Linked DNA regions of Homo sapiens: regions 1 and 2 are each linked to region 3. The links are contacts of gene promoters, found by promoter capture Hi-C in blood cells and fetal thymus (Javierre and others, 2016). All regions are on one chromosome and are shown on one strand. Each heading gives the region's core, a stretch centred on a gene start or on the middle of the fragment in contact. The rest is flanking DNA. Distances are from core to core; before and after follow the strand shown. Region 1 has its middle 77 kb from the start of GLRX3. Region 2 overlaps GLRX3 (glutaredoxin 3). Region 3 holds the start of LINC01164 (long intergenic non-protein coding RNA 1164).

What was found. The method cuts DNA at HindIII sites, captures the fragments that hold promoters and counts their contacts. A CHiCAGO score of 5 or more calls a contact.
Region 1: a contact is called between a fragment that was not itself captured here and the fragment with the promoter of LINC01164 in region 3, in 2 of 17 cell types (endothelial precursors and naive CD8 T cells). The highest score is 10.2, in endothelial precursors.
Region 2: a fragment that was not itself captured here is called in contact with the fragment with the promoter of LINC01164 in region 3 in 3 of 17 cell types (naive CD8 T cells, total B cells and total CD8 T cells); the score reaches 8.9 in naive CD8 T cells.

What each region holds. Positions count from the first base shown.
Region 1 is chr10:130,210,963-130,215,610 of GRCh38, forward strand. No RefSeq gene overlaps it. Among named protein-coding and RNA genes, the nearest start is that of GLRX3, 77 kb to the left of the region's middle. The HindIII fragment of the contact is 5,254 bases long and covers 70-4,648 here.
Region 2 is chr10:130,174,975-130,179,529 of GRCh38, forward strand. GLRX3 (glutaredoxin 3) reads left to right here. Exons shown (of 11, transcript NM_006541.5): 10 at 23-115; 11 at 4,368-4,555. The coding sequence ends at 4,418. Among named protein-coding and RNA genes, the nearest start is that of GLRX3, 41 kb to the left of the region's middle. The HindIII fragment of the contact is 1,430 bases long and covers 1,544-2,973 here.
Region 3 is chr10:131,787,613-131,792,294 of GRCh38, forward strand. It overlaps LINC01164 (long intergenic non-protein coding RNA 1164), which reads right to left and starts at 2,587. Exons shown (of 5, transcript NR_038365.1): 1 at 2,465-2,587; 2 at 2,045-2,254. The HindIII fragment of the contact is 4,036 bases long and covers 2,205-4,682 here.

The sequences.
Region 1 (4,648 bases), core at 1,447-3,946, 1.6 Mb before region 3:
ATGTGAACCCTGTGAAAGGAAAATAAGAATCTCAGGACCCCAGACTCACTATGCCAAAGGAAACAGTCAAGCTTAGGAACCAAATCATGCAAAACTGCCTCCCAGTTTGTTCCTAAATAGCTGCAAAGATGGAGGCCGCCTACCTCCCCATGGGGGCTCCTCACAAGCAAGTTCCTTTCAGGCCCCAAGATTTTTATCCTAAAACAGACTTCTGTTGAGTTTCACCCTGACAGTGTAAGTTAACAGCTTATCTGCTCAGTAGGGCCAAAGGGGGAACGAGAAGTCATTCCTCTACTCCCGAGTCATTCCTCTACTCACCTTTGACTGCTTCTTCTATGTTTATTTTATCTTAGGTAAAAATGCAGTTTCACTGAGCGCCAGACAAATGCACAGTTGACAGTTCCTCTACCCACTTCTTTCCCAGGTAAAATGCGGATTCAGTGAACGCTGATCAAAGCCTCTAAAGAATGCAACCGCTTGCCTCTTTTATCTCCTCCTCCCCCCCTTTTTTTTTCTTTACTCCTTCCCCTGCTGCCCGCTATTTCCCCTTTAAAGACTGAAGTCTCCAAACCCTCTTTGGAAAAAGCACAGACGGTCCTGTGGTTTTGTGTTCCTTTTTCCTTGGCAAACTAAATCTCTAAGTTGATTGAGATGCACCTGGGTAATTTTTCTTTGATTTTCAACTCCATGACAAAACAAGAGGACTTTATTCCATAGGCGAAAGAAAGCCATGGCGGTGGCATGAGACTGAGGTGGGATGAGAGACTCTGATGTCAGCCACAGCTGCCACTGCCATGCTCATGCACGCCCTTTCCGCAGGTGCCTGTCCCTTTCATCAAATGGATTGCCTCAACCTGGGGCGGGGGCTTCAGGTGCGGATGCTTCTGCAGGGCAACCGGCATTACTTCCAGAGCTTGCTCTTTGACACAGCTGGGTCTAAACTCCCTTCATGGGGTTGGCCTGACTTTGGGTGTAACAGAGTGAGGACCCCACGCCCAGTGGTACCTGTGTGGACAATTCCCTCCCCTTCAGTTCCAGCCTCTGGCCCGGAGTGGCTGAGCTGTTGGTTCCTGGGAAGGCCGCTCCTCCTCCAAGGCTGCTGAACTGCTGTGTGGGCAAGGGTGATGGTCCTGCACACAGCCACATGCAGCCCTGGTGGCCACTCAGCACTGGGGTTACCTGCTTTGTGTAAACACACCAGTCTTGTGGGTGATGCGCTGTTGGGGCTGGTCGGTAGCCCTGGAGACCCCAGGGTGCAAGTAGCGGGAGGGTCTGCTCCTCCAACACTCTCCCAGGTCAGAACTAGCCGCCTGCTCTGGAAGCTCCTCCTCCTGGGGGGAGCCACTGAGGGAGTCTTTGTCCCTCTCACACTTTTCTTTCTGCTGGAGCCACCTCGTCTCTCAGGAGGCATCGGGTGGGTGGGGGAGCGCCGTGGTCTGGGCTGCATCAGAGCTCTCTGAGCACTGGGACCCCTCCTTTGCCTGGACCCTTCCCAGGGCCTCCTGATGACATTCCTGGGCCCTTACTCTACAAAAAACATTAAAAATTGTATTTTAGATTGTGTTGGTGCAAAGATGAGTATAGTGAAGAAGTTCACCATTTTGTTTGTTGCCAGAAATGAAACATTTCCAGGGTCCCCAGCCGGCGTCTGCTATGCCTGATGGACAGGCTTCTGGGGTGGGGGCGGGAAGCTCCCATCAGGCCCCCTTCCCCTCCCCTCCCACTGGGGACCCCTGCCTCCAGACGGCCTCCAATGCCCGGTACTCTCCTGCTCTGATCTCCTTCTGTGGCAGGACGGGGCTCACATCAATGTCCTCCCATCTTACCCCTGCCAGTCCCCAGCGCCCAGCACAAGGCTGGACACAGAAATAAACATCGCCCTTTGGAATAAACAAATGTGAGAGTGACTCCTGACCTGAACAGCCCAGCCCCCTACCCCGGGCCTTTCCCAGCTGTCATAAATCTAATGGCTTTTATTGCCCTAGGATTTTTACAGTACCCATTACCATAGCAGTTGGGAACTTAATTGGCAAAATTAAGGACATGTACTTAGGAACTTCTAGTAAATATTTGCTAATGGATTCATATTAGCAGGTCCTGCTGGGACATCTGGTACAGTCAGAACTTGTCTGCCTAAAAACTTGTCCCAAAGCTGGGGGAAGCTGTTTCCTGGCCTGAACTTTCTCTGGGGCTGTGAGAGGCGAGGGCTCAGGAAAAGATGGTCAGGTTCAGTGGAATTTGGATCCTTGAAAGGAAGAAAAGGGTGACGGAAAGGGCAGAGGGAACTGCAACTGGATCCTAAGCCACCCCGTCTGTGACCTGGGCCTTGTCACCGCAAGGCTCTCGTGTTGGTTGGAACTCCGAGAGCGCCGACAGACAACACGAGGCGGTGTGGAGCGACAGGCTGTTTCAGCGAGCGCCCAGGTGCGGGCGGCTCGAGGCCTAAAATGGCGTCAGCACCAAATGAGGGCGGGGCAGGGGTTTTATGGTCTCCTGGAAACAGGAAGTGTCTCAGTCTGACGTAACTGCTACGCGGTACCCGGATGGCCTCTCTCCGGGTCTTCGGGGGTGCGCGTCTTCCGGCCGACCCTCCTCCTGCTCCTGCTATGTTGCTGACCCACGCTGCTGGCGCGAGTGGTCTTGCCCCTCGGGACCCGAGGAGGGAGGAGTTCTTCGTTCCCTTCAGCTTTCAGGCCCCAGGGAGAACCTTTCAGTCACAGGCAGCCTAGGTTCAAGAAGAAGAAAACCTGAGGCCTCGGCTCACCCTGACAGGGAAGTGGCGTGGGGACCGCTAAAGGACTGCGAGGTTCCACTGCCCAGGGCTGTCTAACCGCTTGCTTTAGACTGTGGGTGCACGGAGTCCGTCACTCAGCCTCCAGGACCAGGGCTCCTGATGTGTGAGCGCGTTCCATTCCCCCATTCCCACAAGAACCCTCGCTCCCGCGAAGGCCTCCTGAGCTTGCGCGACTCCGCTGGGCCTTGGAGAGCTCTGGGGAGGGAGGCGCCTCTCCAGCACCCAGATCCCCAGCCTGCAGCGCCTCGGGGCCAGTGTGGCCCGGAATGGCAGGTGAGTTTACAGGGGGGTCTCCGGGGCCTTTCCTAAGTCTATAGACCCATGTCCTTTTGAGAATTCTGAATTGACTCCAAATGGAAGGCTTACCATGCGATTGAAAAAATCGAAACAAAACCGCAGGACCCTATTCGTCCCTGGCCTCCTCTGGCTCATGCTCTGTGCATTTGCTGGAACCCCTCTCTACTGCAGAGGTCACCAGGAGGGTCTGTGCGGGGTCTGGGGATGGGTAGCGAAGCGCAGTTTCCAGTCCTCCCAGCAGCAGCTGTTTTCCTGAGGGACTTTCTGGGACCCAGTGTGTTCCAGGTGGTGGATTCCTCTTTGTGTTTTACTGCTCGTGGTGAGGAAATAGGTGGAGGTTAGAACAGAGATCCCAAAACAGGACTGAATCCAAAGCAGGCTAGGGCAGGAGGTCTCACTGGTGTCCCAAACCATCACCTCCAACGGGGGTCAAGAAGGGTCTGGAAGGCCTGGTGCAGTAATCGCCACTCAGGAGGAGGTGGAGGAGAGGGAAGGTCTGGGCATGGGAGGGCCCATTTTCCAGGGGGAGTTGTACTTGGTGAATCCTAAGATACAGGCCTGCTGCCGCTGCCTCTGCTGCCTTCAGAGCGTGCTCCGGGGCCTGAAGGTGGTGTGCTGTGCACCTTGGGAGCCATGCTTTATGAGTGCAAGAGGGAGTGACTAGGATGTATTTCAGCATGTCTCGCTTCTAAACTCATCACATCATAGATGGGTTCCCAACCTGTGTGAATGTCAGAATCACCTGAAGAGTTTTAAAGACGCAGGTTTCCAGGCCTGTGGCCAGCCTTGGAGAGCCCTAGGAGGGTGAGAGGGGTGGATCTGGCTGTGTTCATTTAATAGTCCTATCACCATTGGCCATAGCCAATGGTATATAGTGTATCCATGTAACAGTCCTATCGTCACTGGCCGTCAGTATGTAGTGTGTTCGTTTAACAGTCCTATCGTCACTGGCCCTCGGTATATAGTGCACATATTTCAAAAATATTGGTTAATGTTTTACCCAGGTGAATTTGAAAAAGAAAACCAGAGAGAAAGCTGACATGCAGCAGTGCCCCCAAAGGTGGGGACTCCAACTCAGGGGCCACCTGGTTTAGTAGGGGCTTGTTGAAAATGCAGGTTCCTGGGCCCCATCCCCAGCTACTGTATCTGCACCTCCTGGGCTGGGGCCCTACATGTGCGTGCTAAATGCATGCCCAGGGGATTTGGGGTCAGGGCCTGATGACAGCGGTGCTGGAAGCGACTGCAGACTGCTGCCTCCTGGGTCCTTCTGGGCTTCTGATTCTGTACCCTGTGGCCCAGGAGATACACACTGCCCTGAGAGGGCTGTACCGGCTGTTGGAGATGCGGCGCTCATTAATAATGCATTCCAGGGGTCAGCTGCAAGATTACCACTTAAAACAGAATCCTGCTAACTTCTGACACAAAATCAATGCCATCAGCACCATCAGAAGCAGCCTGGGAGGTGAGGCCTTCGATGTACCCCCGTGGGCTGGGGTCACAGGACTGGTCCTGCTCGCTGGCAGCTCTATCAAAACCAGCTCCAGCTTCCTTGGAGGC
Region 2 (4,555 bases), core at 1,009-3,508, 1.6 Mb before region 3:
AGGATTCCTGTTGTTTCTTTAGGTTCGGCAAGGATTAAAAGCTTACTCAAATTGGCCAACATACCCTCAGCTGTATGTGAAAGGGGAGCTGGTGGGAGGATTGGATATTGTGAAGGTAAGGCCAGTTCTTCTGCTGTTCTAAAGAACGGAAAAGATTTTGGTATGTTTAAAAATGATTTCATATTGAATGGAAACTTGAGAGTTGTTTTTGACTCCTGTTTCCAGCCTGACTCTCAGACATTTCTAGACCAGTATCACCGTTTCTGTGTGCATGACTACCCTGCCATTCTCACTGTCCCCACGTGGCAGCCTGTTCTTACTTTCACACCTGAGCTAACCATTGCATCTCCTTTCTGTGGGGTGATCTTCCCTGTCACTCAGGGTCCTTGTTAGATCCTGCTTCAGCTCCCAGACAACAAATTGTTTTTTCTTGCCTTACTCATCTGCCCTTGGGTGCATGGAGTGACAGCAGTGTGAGGCCTGTGGCCCGGTGCTGCCCATCCTTGCCACAGAGGCTGAGGATCACTGCCCCTGGTCCCCCGAAAGAAAAAATGTAGGTCCTTTTTGGTTTTGAGATGCTTGGAAATCTGTTATCTGTTAGATTGTGTTTTAGATAAGACACCATTTCTTATGTATCTTGAGTCCTTCCTGATGCTTTGTGTATTTTAGGAGTTCAGTAAATGGTTGTTGGATGGATAAGTGACTTTACTTCTTGATTGAGTTTTAAATGGACGTTACTTTGCATGTATTTAATGTCTAGAATTCAGGGCAGGCCCACCAACTAACACCTGTGTGCTCTGTAGCTCTTTGATTAGCCCAAAACAATAAACAGAAGCTGTAGCTTTAATATCTACACACAGACCCCACTGCACCCCAGGCCCACTGTGGGCATGGTGGCATCGAGGAGGGTGGTAGCTGGTTGGGTATAGAGAGGAGCTAGACAGGAATGCTGGGCAGGAATGCCAGGGTCTGCTCAGGGGCATGAACAAAACTGCCCCGAAAAGTGGGTTGCTGACTGCCCTCAGGCCTTCCTCTTGCCTCAATCCATGAGAGAATTTTCTGAGGTCAGATCTTCGACTTTTTATGTGGAAAACAAATAGCAAGTAGTACTACTTCTAGTTATGTTGTAAAATAAAAGTTTTTTTTTTTTTTTTACATTTTTTTTTGAGAGAGTTTCGCTCTTGTTCCCCACTGGAGTGCAATGGTGCAATCTCGGCTCACTGCAGCCTCTGCCTCCCAGGTTCATGTGATTCTCCTGCCTCAGCCTCCTGAGTAGCTGGGATTACAGGCACCCGCCACCACGCCCCACTAATTTTTGTATTTTTAGTAGAGATGGGGTTTCACCATGTTGGCCAGGCTGGTCTTGAACTGCTGACCCCAGGTGATCCGCCCACCTTGGCCTCCCAAAGTGCTGGGATTACAGGCATGAGTCACCGCGCCTGGCCAAAATAAAAGTTTTTAACACGTGCTTTTGTAAAGTGAAGCACTAGCCTACCACTGAAATGACATCAGCACTTTGGACCAATATGTTTTATAAAAACAAAGCTTGAGTTCCATTGATGCAGAGGCTCTTTTTGTCCTTTGGTGGCCTCTGTGTAGGTTTTGTTTCCTGTGGAGTTCCAGGTTTGATATCATACTTCTTAAACAAGCCAGTGAGACATTTTTCCTGGGGAATGGTCTCACTCCTGGAGGAAAAAATTTTTAAGACTATTGCTCTTGAATAGCCCTGAAGCAGCAGAAACAGATCTGCATTTGTTTCTTCCCTCCCTCCCTCCTTCCCTCCCTCCCTCCCTCCCTCTTTCTCTCTCTCTCTCTCTCTATATATATATATATAGTCTTATTTTTGTAAGACACAAAGAATACTCAAACCCCAAATACTCTTGAGCCTGTTCTTGTCTGAATGTTTTATAGCCTGTACCTTAGCCATTGGTAACTCTTGGGAAGATACAATCAATAAATCTCATTTAATTCTAAAGCTAAGCTGCGTGGGTAACTTCTTTTTAGTTATATAACAGAGTGTTATATGATTTTTTATGTTCACCTGCTAAGAACATATACGTTTGAAATGTGTGATATTGTTAACGTTTTTCCTTGAGAAGATATATGGAATAGATCTTACGATCCCATTTTGATCTGTTTCTTGCAGAATGCAGTTCTTCATGTTCAGTTCAATTAAAAGATGTTTGAAATGGTCTAATCTGGCTGGCCTCTTTGGAGCAATGAGCGTTTGTTTTGTTGAATGAGGGACTGAATGATGATTTAGTTACTCAGCTAATCTAGTGTCCTGAGAAAATTGTGAGTTGTTATTGCCTCTGAAGAGTAAACGGTTCACTACTGCTGTTCCAGAATGTTTGGACTTAAGACAGTTTGTTGAGAGAGATAGAAGATTTGGTTAGGTTTAGACTTTCCACCTGCCGGCTCGCATTAACAGCAGTGAGGGTGGCGAGGACTGCCTTATTTGGCGCGCTCCCAATGTTCCAGGCACACTGCTTTGGTGCTTTAAGAGGCTGCTTCACGTAATCTCCCAAGCAGCCTCAGAGAGCAGAATTCTTCTTAGTCAGTAGATGAGGAAACAGAGACATAGAGAGGTCAGGTGAATTGTCCACCATCCCATAACTAGTAAGCCATTGAGTCCAGATTCCACCTGAGGGCCACCTGCCCTTGCCCACTCAGCTGCGTGGTCCTCTCCGTGCCTTCTTGAGTGTGTGCTCAGAAAAGTCCTGCTGGGTCCCTTGGAGGGGCAGGGTGTCTGCTTGTTGAGTAGGTAGAAGAAGATCCCTAGACATGACTGAAAGCCGTCTGGGTTTTGTGTGACAGCATCATTCCTATTTGAATTTCATCCAGAGGAGGTCATACGGATTTTAATGGTTTTATTGATTGATGTTTATGCTGTTCAGTGATAACCTGAAATGTTATATCATACTAAATGTTTCTTTAAACCAGAAAATCTTATTTATCATGTCTGTCCTTTCAAGCTTGGTGTCTATAATCCAGATTTTAAATCTGAAAAACAGGCACAAGGAGCATGGCGCCTGTACTGCAGTTCCAGTCAACCTGGTGGTAGCTCTTTTGATGCCATGTCTGTTTCTGAATTGTTAGGTCTTTTTAATGGTTTCTGCCTTTCCCTCTTACTGGTACTCTAGCTTTTCCTGAGGCAGAGATGTGTTGCCAGGTTGGGTTTCAATAGCAAAGCCTGATTCCTCTCTGTGAGTGGAAGAACGGGAGGGGAACAAGCATCATATTTGAGTAGACTTTTAACGTCACACTGCTTTTTTTTTCTTCCTTTTTTTCGAGACAGAGTCTCACTCTGTCACCCAGGCTGGAGTGCAGTGGTGCAATCTTGGCTCTTGGGTCACTGCACCCTCCACCTTCTGGGTTCAAGCAATTTTCATGCCTCAGCCTCCTAAGTAGCTAGAATTACAGGCACATGCCACCATGCCCACCTGGCTAATTTTTTTTTTAATAGAGATGGGTTTTGTCATGTTGGCCAGGCTGGGCTTGAACTCCTGACTTCAAGTGATCTGCCCCCTTGGCCTCTTAAAGTGCTGGGATTATAGGTGTGAGCCACTGCGCCCAGCCACATTACTTCATTCTTCAACCTTGAAAGTCACTTGATTTATTTTCCTTATTTATTGCTACAGTTTAAATAGGGGCTTCATTGGCTCCAGTTGCTGCGTTTCCTAATACTAAACAATCTGTTGGTTTTAGGATACCTTAACTTCATTTATTTATTTATGAATGAATGAATGAGATGGAGTCTCGCTCTAGCCCAGGCTGGAGTGCAATGGCACGATCTTGGCTCACTACAATCTCCACCTCCCGGGTTCAGGAGATTCTCCCTGTCTCAGCCTCCTGAGTAGCTGGGATTACAGGTGCCCGCCACCATGCCCAACTGATTTTTGTATTTTTAGTAGAGACGGGGTTTCACCATGTTGGCCAGGCTGTTCTGCAACTCCTGACCTCAGGTGATCTGCCCTCCTCGGCCTCCCAACGTGCTGGGATTACAGGCATGAGCCACTGCACCCAGCCTTATTTATTTATTTTTTAAGAGACAGATTTCACCATGTTGGTCAGGCTGGTCTTGAACTCCTGGCCTCAAGTGATCTGCCCACCTCGGCCTCCCAAAGTGCTGGGATTACATTTGTGAGCCACCACACCTGGCCAAGAATACCTTGTTAAATTTTTTAACCTGATAGTGTATTCAGGGTTTATGGCTCATTTAGTTTGAGAGTGTTAAGAGACTGGAGTTTTAATCCAATAGGTGTTTCTTTTGGTTCTCAGATATACATACAAGCTGTGATTGTTTAGATGTTTCCATCTTTTTATATATGCATATACATATTATTATTGTTGTTTTTTATTTTTAGGAACTGAAAGAAAATGGTGAATTGCTGCCTATACTGAGAGGAGAAAATTAATAAATCTTAAACTTGGTGCCCAACTATTGTAAGAAATATTTAATTACATTGGGAGCAGTTCATGATTTAGTCCTCAGAAATGGACTAGGAATAGAAAATTCCTGCTTTCTCAGTTACATGTTTTGTGTATTTCACAA
Region 3 (4,682 bases), core at 1,337-3,836:
GCTATGAGCCACTGTGAGTTTTCTAAGAAGTCAAACCAAGTGCACCCTGATTCCATTTTGTTGTTATGATATGTAAAGGTAAATATATAGGAGATATACGTGTTTTATATATGTGTATATAAAACATAAACATTTATATATTTTTGTACTTATTCATATAAAACATATTTATATATAATTATTGTACAAGATAATTTAATTCCATGCAATAGTTATTTATCACATGGCTGGACTGGTCACTGGGCCGGGTGCTGAATGCTCAGAAAATTAAGACACAATTTCTGCCTTCAAAAGACCCACAGCCTGGCAAGGAAAATGAGCAGACATATATACACATATATAAGAATTATAATCTGATATGACAAGTGTTCGTCCAAAGGCACTACGGGAGCAAGAGGAAGAAGCAATTTCTTCTATCTGATTTGAGGGGTGGCAGGGAGAAAAAGTTGCCATTTCAGCTAAGGAAAGAGATGGGTAACCCCAACCCCAATGTGAAAGACACATATTCAAAGCAGGGAACTGCATGGGGGAAAGCTCAGCAGCATCAAAGTTCACAGGACCAGCACGTGCTCTGGGGTCAGGTCGCCAAAGCCACAGAGTGAAGCTAAACTTCAGCTTGGTGTTTTGCAAAATCTTTTATTCTTTCTCCTTGATTGTCCCCTACAGTGAACCTTCCCACCAGTCCTATTCTATAAAATGTTCCCTTCCCTCACACTCCAGGGATTATCCAGGGTGCAGAACAGGGAGGAGTATGCCCCATCTCGTGTGCAAAACCTCATTATGTAAGGTAATTCTATGGGATACCTTTTATACCCCACATGAAAACCCTCCCAGCCTCACCTCGCACTTCACCCAGTACCTCCCAGGCTCTGATCCACTTTGCATAGGTGTCACCTGACACCACCTGGGCTCGGAGATCTGCTCACCTCTTACTTCCTGCCTTGGCCCCGGGGTCACCTGCAGGAGGCTGCTCAGCAATCACAGTTATGCAAGTCTCCAAAGACAGGGCCTCCACGGCCAGGACAGAAGCAGATAATAAGTTCTCTTTCCTTTACTGTCCCAAGGAGACTGTGCTGAGATGCATTTCATAAAGGGCCTCAGAAGGTCTCAAAAAGCCCAGCATCAGCCACTCCAAGCGGCTGTCGATTGGATAAGCCATCTGGTATTCCCATTCACTCCTTCCCTCCCTCGCTCAACTCACTCCTGCTCGCCTGAGCCCTGAGACCCCTGCCCAAAGAAACAGCCTGAACTCAAGCCTTTGTCCCTAGCTCTGCTGGAGAAGCTCCATCTAAGACCACTGATACCACACCTGAAAGCTCTAGATAGCAGACCTTCAGGATAGAATTTGGGGGCTAGTCCCCTCGCCAATCCAGCACACAGAGGAACCCCATTGCCAGTGGCAATTGGGGAAGTAATAAGCCCCTGGCCTCAGCTGCCTCATCATCACCAAGAAGGGCACTGGAATAGGGCTAGAGAGAGGTGCAGGGAGGTGCGGGGGAGGTACAGGGGAGGCACAGGGGAGACAGGCTTTGCACTGGCATCCATGACACCTTAGAGACTCCCCATCCAGCAGGGTAGGGGTCCCCAACTCCCAGCCATGAACCAGTACCAGTCTGTGGCCTGTTAGGAGCCAGGCCACACAGCAGGTGAGCAGCAGGCTGAGGAGCACTGCTACCCAAGCTCACCCTCCTGTCAGATCAGCAGCGGCATTAGATTCTCATAGGAGCACAATCCCTATTGTGAACCGTGCTTTTGAGGGATCTCGGTTGCCCACTGCTTATGAGAATCTAATACCTGATGATCTGAGATGGAACAGTTTCATCCCCAAACCATCCCCACCCCCAGTCTGTGGAGAAATTGTCTTCCACAAAACGTGTCCCTGGTGCCAAAAAGGTTGAGGACCACTGCGCCAGGGCGTTGGATTCAGAAGGTCTTGCAGAGGGTGCATCAGCAATATGCATTTCTAACTGGCAGCAAAAGTCCTCTTACAAAACGTTCATCTACTGTAGAAAGATTTAGGATGTAGAAACAAAAGAAATGTCACCTGTAACTCTGCCATGGGTCAGTGTGCACCATCTCAGGCTCTTCTGCACGCCCATGTGGGTGGGGTCGGGGTTGGGTGTCTCGGCCAGGTGGAGGCTGGGCCAGGCCCCAAAGCTGTGGGCGGCAGATGCTGCATCCACCTCCTCTGGCTTGGATCTAGAAGCTTCCTCCTCTCTCTTCCTCTTGCCTGAATTGACACAGGAGATGAAGCCTGGGGAAAATGGACCAGAACTCAGACCCCAACCCCCAACCTACAATGACATTCAAGGATGTAAGACGCACATGATAGATTTGTTAGCACAGTGTTATCTGTAAATCAGAGCTGTGTTCACTGTCAGTTAGAACAGGCTGGGTTATACCGAGTAACAAATGTCCTGCAATCACAGAGGCTTCCCTCCACAAAGATCTGCCTGTCACTCACCACGTGCCCAGGGCTTGGCTCAGCCCTTCACAGGTGGATGGGCATTCGCAAACTGGAGCACGGCAGCCTGTCATAGAGACAGGAAATGAGCACATGGTGAACAAGTGCTGGCTCTTAGCTTCTGCCCAGCAGAGCCCCATGACACTTCTGCTCACATTTCATTGGCCAAGGCAAGTCACATGGCCCTACTGCCACATGACACTTGTACTTGAATTTCATTGGCCAAGGCAAGTCCCCTTGCTTTGCCTGCTTCAGAGGAGCAGGGATGTTCAGTGAGCAAATCACCCTGAGAACTTGATGACTGTCCTTGCTCCATTCTTTCTTTTATCACGGTCCTTTGTCCACCGACACATCACCAGCTCTGGACTGGAGCTCCAGTAGAGAGGGCACCAGGCACACTCATCCTTGTATCCCACAGGGACTGCCATCATTGGCAGACAGGCAGTCTACTTCTCTTTTTCCTGCCAAGAGTCGGAGAGAGCAGTGACTTCCACAACACTGGCCCTGCAGACTTTGTAACCTAAGTTCCCAAAAATGGACTAAAAAGTAATGAGTTCTTATCCTGACTATTCACTCAGCAATACTTAGTTATTAAACATCTTCTATGTGCCAGGTACATAATGTGGAGAATAAATAGAAGTAGAAAATAAGAAAATGAAAATATCCTACAGGTTATCTCTTATTCAAAATGGTTGGGACCAGAAAGGTTTTGAGTTTTGGATTTTGGAATATTTACATTACACTTAATGGTTGAGCATTTTGAATCCAAAAGTCTAAAATCTAAAATGCTCCAGTGAGCATTTCCTTTGAGCATCATGTCAGCACTCAGAAAGTTTCAGATTTTGGAGCATTTCAGATTTCAGATTTTTAGATTCAAGATGCTCAACCTGTATAATTTCACCACTCTGGGGGACCTACTTAACATTTTTTATATATTTCCTTTCCGTTTTTTTCTATGGATTTTTTTGGTCATGCCGACTTAAATAATTTTCTCTTTTTTTTCACTTAAAGTTATAACTACAACAGTCTTAAGAACTCTTTGAAAATTTAATTTTAAAGACTGAATCATATTGCCTTTAATGTGGATTACATCAGTGCAGGTTATTTATTGGGCCATCTTATTATCATTAAACACTTTGGGTCATTTCACTTTTTTATTTTTTAAAATGCTATGATTAGTATCATTTTTAAAATTATACCTCAAAAAGTCTTTGTAAGAAGATTATTCATAAGGCGTAAGCATAAGGAAACCTTCTTATGAGATCATTTGTTCCACAACAATTTATCTCAGCCTAATTGCCTTTTATTGGCCATAGAGCTGTTCACTTCCTCAGCAACCCAGGGTTCAAGTCCTGTAAAACACAACACTGGGCAGTTCTAGAAGAGAGAAGCGTTTCTGGAGCTTGGCTCTAAAATCTTCAGATCACAACAATTTTCACAATGAAATAAAATTTAATTTTTGGCTCACATAGTAAAAGATTATATCAGATTTCTCATTCCTCGGAAAATCAGAGAGAACTTAATAACAAATACCATAATTATCTGCAAAGACTGAACGGTGATTAAATTATCAGGAGGCCGTTACTCCTAAAACTATTTCTTTAATTAGCTAAAGCTGGCAGTATATATTAATATTTCCTGAGATATTTGCATACATTCACAACAGGCTAACCAGACATTAGCTGAAATATAATTTTTCTAATATTATGTTAGAAATATTTTAAGATTAAATCATATTATCATGTTTTTTCCTGTGATTATTAGAGCAGACACTCTTGATTTATCACCATAAATTCTCTAATTTAGGAGCTGAAAATGCTTCTCGTTTTCCATGATGAGCTTTTTCAATTCCATTTACACAATAGAAGGTGCTCTTTGAAGCCCAGATCTGCTGGTAGAACGTGGTTTTTGATAATCCACATCTGCACACTGCTCCCAGACAAACACAAGGAAGCCCACCCTAATATGTAGCTGGCAGGACCCCGGCCATTCAGATTCCGTGGCCACAGCAGGAAAAGCGTCTGGGTAGCAGTGGGTGCAGGGACAGGGTGAGGGGAGCTGGTCCTGGCTGGCCACAGCACCAAAGAGCGGAGGACATGTCAGCAAGCAGGATTTGAATGAGGGTCGAACAGGTCTTTCTCAACTCCATCCCAGCCTGCATAGAGGACAGGACACTCAATTGAATTGGGCAACTCACAGAAGGTCCCAAAAGGGGGTC